Linked DNA regions of Homo sapiens: regions 1 and 3 are each linked to region 2. The links are contacts of gene promoters, found by promoter capture Hi-C in human tissues and cell types (Jung and others, 2019). All regions are on one chromosome and are shown on one strand. The core of a region is centred on a gene start or on the middle of the fragment in contact, and the rest is flanking DNA. Distances in the headings are between cores, read along the strand shown.

Region 1 (3,197 bases), core at 656-3,155, 1.9 Mb before region 2:
AATCCCCTCCTCTTGCATTTTCCTTACACCTCTTTCTCTTCAAACTTCTTTAACATGCCTTGGCTTAGTTCTGCTCAATTTTCCGAAAGAAGAAGCTTCTCTGGATAAGGTGGAGGATAGTTAAGGGAGGTTTTAGTAAGTGCCATTTCTATGAGCACTTACTCTGCACCAACCCACAGATGCATGGTATGACACAGCACCCGACAAGAATAAGTACACCCATTACAGCTGTGAGGGAAGTAAGAATTGAGGCTGTTATTCCTTTCCATTTACCGAACCACTTTTCTAGCCATCCTGTAAAGGGGTCATTTACCCCTGAGCTGCTGGCTAACTCATTGGACAGAGCAGTCAGACCTTGCAATGCCTTTGTTATACTTCCATTAGGGGCAGTGTTGTTTGGGATGAAGGCACAACATTCAGTTTTAATCATGATGCAAACTCCTCCTCTTTCTGCTAATATCATGTCTAAGGCTATCCTATTTTCCCAAGCCATCTGGCAGTTAGTCCCTAATTGCTCAGCTATTCCTTTAACAGCATCTCTAGTGTAGTTCATAAATTGCTGTTGGTTATAATAGATGTAGTTTATCCAATCTATGTTTTTATTAATTGTGACCCACCAAAATATTGACTCAAATCCTGCAGCTATTTGATTTCGGGCTTTAAATTGATCTGGTATTCCCCGTGGGACTCCAATTGCATCTAAATAGACATGAGAGTTGAATGACCTATAAGGAGCTTCTCTCACTTTATGATGTCTTATTTTTCCTTCCTCTGGTTGATGAAATGCCAGAGTAAAAGGGATAGCCAATTGAACTAGAGCATAACTACTGCTCTAATTATTTGGCAGAGTGTCCAGTAAAGGTCCTCCATAATACCACCATACATCCGCTCAGGGATGAATAAGGGCAGATTGACGGGTCACCTCTTGGAAGTGCCTAACTTCACTGCATCCTGTTAAGTCTCCAAGAAATGCCAAATTTTTCCCCGTGTCGTTAGAGACACGAGGTAAAATTGGTTTTGGAAGATGGAGGCTGGATGGCCCTTGGGGGCTGACCTGCAGGGTGTTGGACTTCAGGAAATAGCAGAGAAAGAGCTTAGCACAATTTGTTATTCCAGGCAGTAGAATCTTGAAAAAGCTACCATGCACTCCATGTCCACTTGATTTGAGGACCATCCCAGTGGAAAGGTAACAACCTGGGCCTCTAGCCTACCGTGCACACAAGTGTAACAGTTACTTTTGTTTAAAGTGTGAATGGAATATTTAATACATTTTAACCAGGCATTTACATCTTTATACCCTGTCAATAGCTATGGTTTGCCTTAGGTCTCCTATTTCTACTACTGAGACCTTGCTTTTGTCATTTGGCATGAGGCGAGGCATAGTTTTATTTCGTAGGTTTGTGAAAGGGGCAGTTGTAGGAGGTAGAGCAGGGAGAACAAAGCGCATCTTAAAGAAGCCTATAGGGTCCTTTCCAGTGACTTCTGCTCCTAAACCATAGAAACGCTCTAAAGTGGGGTTAGAGTTGCTAGTGGTAGGAACAGTAATGGATATAGGCACTGTGTTAGGAAAGGAAGGAAAAGATAGATAGACTAAGCTTTTCTTAGCTTTAATTTGGTAAGGCTTGATCCAGGAACAATGGTCCATGATTCTGATGGTAATGGTGCTTGCTTGACTCGGGTGTGATGTGTCCATCCCCCTTCTGTGGTACAAACCATAGTCTTGGTGGTTAGCAGCACAAGGTAGGGTCCTTCTCAGGCTGGCTTGAGTTTTCCTTCTTTCTACCCTTTGATGAGGGTGTGATCCCCAGGCTAGTGCCCGTTTACCAGAAATTCTAGGGGTGGTACCTGTGCTAAAAGACTTGTAGTTTTGAGGGAAAGGAAAGTGGAAGATAAACCAAGTATATAATTTATGAGAAACTGATCTTTTGTTTTAAATTTGGGGACACCAGGCTGGGCGCGGTGGCTCATGCCTGTAATCCCAGCACTTTGGGAGGCCGAGGCGGGTGGATCACCTGAGGTCAGGAGTTTCAAGACCAGCCTGGCCAACATGGAGAAACCTTGTCTCTACTAAAAAATACAAAATTAGCCAGGCTTGGTGGCACATGCCTGTAATCCCAGCTACTTGGGAGGCTGAGGCAGGAGAATCGCTTGAACCTGGGAGGCGGAGGTTGTGGTGAGCCGAGATCGCGCCATTGCACTCTAGCCTGGGCAACAAGAGCGAAACTCTGACTCAAAAAAAAAAAAAAAAATTGGGGGACACCAGCAGTGGACTTTATAGTCCTTAGTGCCTTCTTCCTGAGAAACTTCCTTTAGAAACTTCCTGAGAAACCTATTTTTATTAGTTTTTAGACCAAAGAAAGCCAAACACCATTTTATATTTGACAGTGCTTCCTGTATGATTATACCAGATAAGCTAAATTTCACCTTTATATTAGTGTATTATTAATATTAAACTCAATTTTAATAAAACCCTGTAGACATATTTATCCGATTTTAATGTCTGACCATAAGGTAAGATTTCCATAGACTCTTTTTAACCTTTTATAAAATTTGTTAAAGAGCAGTTTAGTGTTTTTTAGTGTTTTAAGAAAAACCCATTGTGCTTTTATTTTAATGTCCAGTTCACAGAAAAACTGGATGATACCCCTTTAACTTTAGCCAATATGGTTACACACAGAATTTCCTTTACAATTAACATTTTAAAACTTGCTTAAACGCTCAAAACAAAATTTTTTTTAACCTTTTAATGTAGGTAAAAATCCACATTCTATGCCTCCTTATTATCCTTTTACCAAAAGTATATTTTACTTTCATTATACACCTTGCACATAAACTGTTTCTTCAATAGTTTTACATTCAGGAGGCCTAATTACTTTTAAATTATACAACATTTCTTGCATAAGTTCCCTTTTATAGCATTTTTCATGACTTTCGCAATCTTCGACAGGCCTCAATTTTCTGACTTCCTGTAAACATCGCTTTCTTTAAATAACCAGTTAATTTATTTTAGGATAATAATTTACCATATAACATTCTTTTTATATAAATTCTCCCCCCCCTCCTTTTTTTTCCCCCAAGATGATAACCATTCTTTTCCAAAGCAAACTTCCTTCAGGTCTGTGGACTAGACTGCCTAAGGCCACAAGATTAGAAGTTAGGATAATACATATTACACTGCTAACTTTTGGCAAACTTTA
Region 2 (3,229 bases), core at 486-2,985:
TTACCATCTAGCTTAAAAATTAAGCTTTTCTTTCCCTCTTTCTCTTTGGTCTTTTCTTCCTCCCTCCCCACCCCGGGATTCTCTTTTTTTTTTTTTTTTTTTTTTTTTTTTTTGAGATGGAGTCTCGCTCTGTCGCCCACACTGGAGTGCAGTGGCGCGATCTCGGCTCACTGCAACCTCCTCCCCGGGTCAAGCCATCCTCCTGCCTCAGCCTCCCGAGTGGCTGGAACTACAGGAGTGCGCCACCACCATGCCCGGCTGATTTTTGTGTTTTTAGTAGAGACGGGGTTTCACCATGTTGGCCAGGCTGCTCTCCACCTCCTGGGCTCAAGCCTCCCAAAGTGCTGGGATTACAAGCGTGTGCCACCGTGCCAGGTCTTCATCAGATTTTTTTAAGGAGTCAGTGGCTCCTAAAATATTATGACCAGTTCTACACACTTGGTCACCTAAGGACATTTCTTAGCCTGACAGCACTCAGGCTAACAAAGCTCCCTCCAATCAATATCCTCAGGCTTTTCTGGGGTTTTTGCATATTCTGAAACCTTACAAAAAACCCAAAGATTCACAGTGTCAACTCTTTCCACAAGGATGCTAGTCTTGCTAATTCCTACTGAGAAACAGCTTTTTTTGGAAGGAAATTTTAAGCAACAGCAAAAGTTGGTGAAATCATCACTAATATCCTAGAGTTTATCATGCAGAGTTAACTGTGGAGTTTCTTCCCCCTGACAAAATGTATCAAGGTACAGATAGAAAAAATACCATTTAGAGGATCCAATGATTCATTTCAAGCCTGTTTTATTAAGCTGAGAAAGCTAGTTGCTTATCTTTATAATGCACCAGAAAGTAATTAGAGGCTAGGATTGCTGGGACTGCTTGTGTAAATATAAAGCAGGATCATTAAATGCAGGAAAGGAATCGCTACGACTGAATACAGATACATTTCATATTAGCCAGTCTGGCAAAAATCAAGGTTAGCTCTCAAGAACAGGGCTCAACGAGGTGTTTTTTTGTTGTTGTTTTGTTTTGCTTTAGCTCTATAGTTAACTGGTTTAGTTACAGAACATTTCCTTTATGTCTGTAATTGTATTCGCCCAAGTGCTGCAAATAGGATATTTAAACGACCAACTCCTCAAATGTGAGTAAATCAGCCGGCAGTAAATAGAAGTAAATAGAAGTCCGGTGGCAGCGACAGGGAGGGAATAGCGACCAGGTACAGCGAGGGGGTTGATGACTATCGCCCACCGACATCACCTTTACACCTGTTCTCAGGGATGAGTTTCTGACCCAGCTCTACGGGACCAGGCGAAGATGAGAAAAGGGAGAGGCTGGGTGCTGCGGGGCGCGCTGGCCGGCCGGGGGATTGGCAGCGGACGTCCACCCGGCCACCTCGCCCTGCGGCCTGTACTTCCCGGGCAGGCGGCGGTCTCGCGTAGAGCGCGAAACCAGGAGCTGAGCCGCGAGTGGCGCCAGACGCGAGGGGACCGAGGCGGCGACCACCCCGGGGTCCAGGGTCACTCCGCCCTCCTCGCCCAGGGGCCCCAGCCCTGCTCACCCGGACTCTTCAGGTTGTAGCGGGTCTCCATGGTGGGTCGCTGGCTTGGCTCCGGCCTCCCGGGCCGCTGCCACCTCCTCTCCACGCGGCCGCTGCCCGGGTCTCAGCGCGGCTCGGGCGGACGGGGCCTGGCCGAGGAGCCTCGGCAAATGCCGCCCAGTCCAGCCTGGACTGCGGGCGGGGTGGCAAGGCTGAGTGCGGGCGAGGCGCTCGCTTCGCGATGGCGCCGCCTCCTCCACTGCGCCCCCGCCTCCCTGAGTGCCTGGCAGGCACCGGCGCCGGCCGGGGCGGCGCTGAACCGGGCGCCCGGGCTGGAGGTCAGCCTCCTCGGGTAGTCGCAGGCCCAGCCCTGCCGCGGCCGCCCGGCTTGCGTCACCCGCCCTCGTCCGGGATTTGTGAAGTTGCCCTGACGTGGCAGTAGCTTCGTGGCGGTCGGTCACTACCCAGCCGCCGCCCGCCCGGCGAAGCCGGCTTGGGGAGGTGCAGGAGCGAGCGGCGTCCTCGTCCTCTCGTCCCGGCCCTGCCCGCTGTAGGCGAGGTCCGGGACCCCCGGGCCCTCGAGAGCTCGGAGGGGGCGCCGGGCTCCGGCTGCAAAGCTGTCCGCAGCCGGCTGCCCGCGCGCGGTCCCGCAGGGTCTGGGAAAGGCTTTGTTTTTAGATTCAGTTGCTGTTGCGAGGGGCGGGGGTTAAGTGAGGAGGGGGAAAGCCAGTGACAAGGAAATGGAATAGGATTTTTTTTATTTTTTATTTTGTGTGTGTGTGTGACGGTGTCACCGCTCTGTCGCCCAGGCTGGGATGCAGTGGCGCGATCTTGGCTCACTGCAGCCTCTACCTCCCGGGCCCAAGCGATCCTCCCACCTCAGCCTCCAGCGTGGCTGGGACCACAGGTGTGTGCCACCATGCCCGGTTAATTTTTTGTATTTTTGTTAGAGACACGGTTTCACCGTGTTGGCCAGGCTCGTCTCGAACTCCTGGACTCAAGCGATCCGCCCGCCTCGGCCTTCCAAAGTGCTGGGGTTACAGGCGTGAGCCACGGCTCTGGCCAGAGTTGGATATTCATAACAATTTTTTTCTCGGGTAGTGTGTTAGGTGCACGACATGTTTTAGGCATTGCAGGAGTTTTGTTTTTTTTGGTTTGTTTAGATGTAAAAGCTGTCAAAAAAAGGAATTACATTTAATGTGAGGGAAAGCATACAAATATGAAAGGTTAAACTTCAAAGGACACACTTACTGCTTCATTGTCCAATGTGTGGGATCGAGAGAGGACTGAGTTCAAAAGACTTAAGGAGTAGGGACCTTACTAAAGGAAAGGAGGGAGGGATTGGGAAGGTGGGGAGGATAGAAAGGGTTAATCAGGTTGGGCAAGTTTTATTCTGTTATATAAAGACATAAACTCTTAAATTTGATTTGTTTTCTATTGTTAAAGTTAATCTAAATCTGTGAGTTTCTTGATGAAATTGGGAGTAAAAAAGTGAAGGATATCTAAAATTAGATGGTATATTTTAAATCATTCCCTGATGTTGTTTTCTGTATAGTAAACTGATAATCTGACTGACTGAGATATGCAAACAAAACCAAACTCCAATGCTGCTTCATTCATTCATTGTGTTGAATCTTCAGATTAACTGACACTTGACACCCTCTCCTGCCACAGCTCTACAAAAGCCCCTAATTTGTG
Region 3 (3,262 bases), core at 333-2,832, 1.8 Mb before region 2:
GTGGCTCTAAGACCAACGGGTAGTGTTATAATACGAAAATCTTTGAGGAATTGACCCTGATTATAAGGCAGATGGAGCAGGAATGAGGGAAACATACCCAGACTTTAACATTTGCCTTCACTGGCTTCAGTTGTTGAAACAGATTGACTGAAGAAGTAGGAAGATGCTCTGCATTTTGCCCACCATCTGTCCCCTGACTGAAGACACTTGGGCACGTAATTAAGACTGGTAACTCTCCCTCTCCTCAGTATTCTGTGGATGACTGCATATCCAGCAAAACAACTGGATAGGAACTGGAGAGAGAGAGACTGGCAGCAGCACTGGCACTGTAGGAGATACCCACACTGAAGTATAGCACTGTGAATAGGAGCCGAGGCAGGTAGAAACCTGGCAACAGTGAGAGCTTATATTCTTCAGTGTAGTTTTTAAATTTACCTACCTGATCTGTAACAGACTGAGAGAAGTCATGGTAACAGTTTAAAGTATCCTACTGCTGTGTTTCCCAGTTTCTAAGAGGTTTTTCATGTGTATTTTGATGCGGCATTATTCTGCACATAAAAATTGTGTCTTGATTTGCCACTTTCATGTTATGCTATGATTTTACCTATTAATGTAAAGTGACTATTTTTGTTCTTTTTAAAGCTACCTTGTTGTTCTGCTTTGTCTCTTTTTTTTATTATTTATTTATTTATTTATTTATTTATTTTGAGGCAAGGTTTTGCTCTGTCGCCCAGGCTGGAGTGTAGTGGCACAATTTCAGCTCACTGCAACCTCTGCCTCCCAGGTTCAGGTGATTCTCCTGCCTCAGCCTCCTGAGTACCTGGGACTACAGGTGTATGCCACCACGCCCGGCTAATTTTTGTATTTTTAGCAGAGATGGGGTTTCACCATGTTGGCCAGGGTGGTCTCCAAGTCCTGAGCTAATGAACCGCCCACCTTGGCCTCCCAAAGCGCTGGGATTACAGGCATGTGCCACCACGCTGGCCTGCTTTGTCTCTTAATAATAGTGTCCTCTGGCTAGGTGGGGTGATGTACGCCTGTAATACCAGCACTTTGGGAGGCCAAGGTGGGCAGATCACTTGAGGTCAGGTGTTCAAGACCAGCCTGGCCAATGTGGTGAAACCCCGTCTCTGCTAAAAATATAATTAGCCAGATGTGGTCGCGGGCGCCTGTAGTCCCAGCTACTCGGGAGGCTGAGGCAGGAGAATCACTTGGACCTGGGAGGCGGAGGTTGCAGTAAGCTGAGATCTCACCACTTCACTCCAGCCTGGGCAACAGAGCGAGACCCTGTCTCAAATAATAGTAATAGTAATAATAGTGTCTCCTTGCTTTCTTTTTTTGTTGGCATTTTAATTCTATAACCTTGTCTGCCACTTTACCGTACGATGACTTCAATGTATTCCAAGGCTTTTGATAAAATTAAAAATCAATAGTTGCTAAAAACTCTGAGTTAACTATGATTAGGAGAGAAGTTCCTTAACATGAAGTGAATTTATATTCCAAACTATCAGTTAACATTAAAACTTGGTGGTAGATTATTAGCAGCAGAAATTTAACGTGAACACTCCAGTTGTTACAATAAAATACGTAGCAGTAAACAACAAGAAATATGAGGGAAAGTAGAAAACTATAAGGAATCTAAAATATTTGATTAAAAAAAGAGACCTGTGATATTGGGGTTGGGGATTTTTTAACATATTAAAGATGGGATTTTTCCCCAAATCAGTCTATGGATTTGATTTTATCTAGTCAAATACCAGTACAACTAGTTTTGAGAAGTGACAGGATTACTGTAAAATTAATTTGAAGAAGTGGCTTAAATTTTTTTGAAAGAGAATAACAATGTTTGGGGGCAGTGGGAGGAAGACCTAAATGTATTTGATAAAATGTACAACATACAAAGCCATAATAATTAAAACAGTTCAAGACTGGTAGGAGAATAGGGTTGGATTCAGTAGAACAAAATAAAAAGTTCAAACATAGTTCAAAGTATATATAAGTATTTAGACTATAAGGGCATGTCAAATCAGCGGGAGAAGGATGGATTGTACAATAAAGGAGGGTTTTTCAAACCAAATGTCATAATTTATGTGTGAGTTATGAAATCAATTTAGTGGACTATGAGTATAAAACAGGAAAGAAAACATTTGCTATTACATAATAAGGGTGAGTGTTGTTTTTTGTGACTTTAGTTTTTGTTCATGTGTATATGTGTTAGGTTATGATATAAAGTGTATTCCTTAATGTGGATTATAGTTTGAAAAGTTTGAAAGCCAGTGCAATAAATGGTATTTTCACAAATAGCTAACCATTTGGAGAAAGCATTCAAAAAGGATACAAAAATATACAGACAGAATAAATGAAAGACTGGACTAAACTATGTCAGTGGAAAAATGTAAGAATAGTAGTAGTAAGTCATTCAATAGAGGAGAGTTCAAAGCAAATGTATGAAACAAAGTATACAAGGTTGTAGAATAACAGCAAATAATGAAAACATTATTAAATGTATATAACTCAAAAAAGCCACTTAATAAAAACTGTTAGAAATTAAAAAGCAAATGATAGAAATACAGTAGAAAGATTGACATTTTTAATCTTAAATATGCCATAAATATGGTAAAAATAAAAGATTATAAAAAATGAAATACAGAGGATATTGAATGTTACCTGTCCCCAAATATATGTTTTTGATGAATGTAAAAAAAATTAAGGCCAGGCAAGGTGGCTCACACTTGTAATCCCAGTACTTTGGGAGGCCAAGGTGGGCAGATCACTTGAGGTCAGGAGTTTGAGACCAGCCTGGCCAACATGGTGAAACCCCATCTCTACTAAAAATACAAAATTGAGCGGGCGTGGTGGCACGTGCCTGTAGTCACAGCCACTCGGGAGGCTGAGGCAGGAGAGAATCACTTGAACCTGGGAGGCGGAGATCGCACTGAGCCAACATCATGCCACTGCACTCCAGCCTGGGTGACAGAGTGAGACTCCATATCAAAAAAAAAAAAAATTTCACTTCTGTCACTTACTGTGTAACTTTGCACGTAAGATCTATAACTTATACTATTATATGAAAAAAGAAACTGACTTATTTCTTTCTGTTTTTAGAGGACTATTTTAACAAAGGGAAAAATGAGCCTGAGGACAGTAAGCTTCGATTCGAAACTTATCAGTTGATATGGCAGCAGATGAAATCTGAAAATGAGGTGAATACTTTTTTTAATAATTTTCTGTAACACCCTAAGTCTCATTTTTGTTGCATCTC

What was found. The method cuts DNA at HindIII sites, captures the fragments that hold promoters and counts their contacts. A contact is called where the count stands out against the background at its distance.
Region 1: a fragment that was not itself captured here is called in contact with the fragment with the promoter of UBE2J1 in region 2 in 1 of the 25 tissues and cell types used here (heart right ventricle).
Region 3: a contact is called between a fragment that was not itself captured here and the fragment with the promoter of UBE2J1 in region 2, in 1 of the 25 tissues and cell types used here (bladder).

What each region holds. Positions count from the first base shown.
Region 1 is chr6:87,479,186-87,482,382 of GRCh38, forward strand. The region is part of intron 2 of SLC35A1 (solute carrier family 35 member A1); the gene reads left to right. Among named protein-coding and RNA genes, the nearest start is that of SLC35A1, 7.8 kb to the left of the region's middle. The HindIII fragment of the contact is 4,586 bases long and covers 1-3,197 here.
Region 2 is chr6:89,350,987-89,354,215 of GRCh38, forward strand. UBE2J1 (ubiquitin conjugating enzyme E2 J1) reads right to left here and starts at 1,736. Exons shown (of 8, transcript NM_016021.3): 1 at 1,553-1,736. The coding sequence starts at 1,583. RefSeq lists an enhancer at 1,042-1,991 and silencers at 1,288-1,347, 1,378-2,087, 2,098-2,197. The HindIII fragment of the contact is 5,428 bases long and covers 1-3,229 here.
Region 3 is chr6:87,598,679-87,601,940 of GRCh38, forward strand. It overlaps ORC3 (origin recognition complex subunit 3), which reads left to right. Exons shown (of 20, transcript NM_012381.4): 3 at 3,106-3,203. Among named protein-coding and RNA genes, the nearest start is that of ORC3, 10 kb to the left of the region's middle. The HindIII fragment of the contact is 6,974 bases long and covers 1-3,262 here.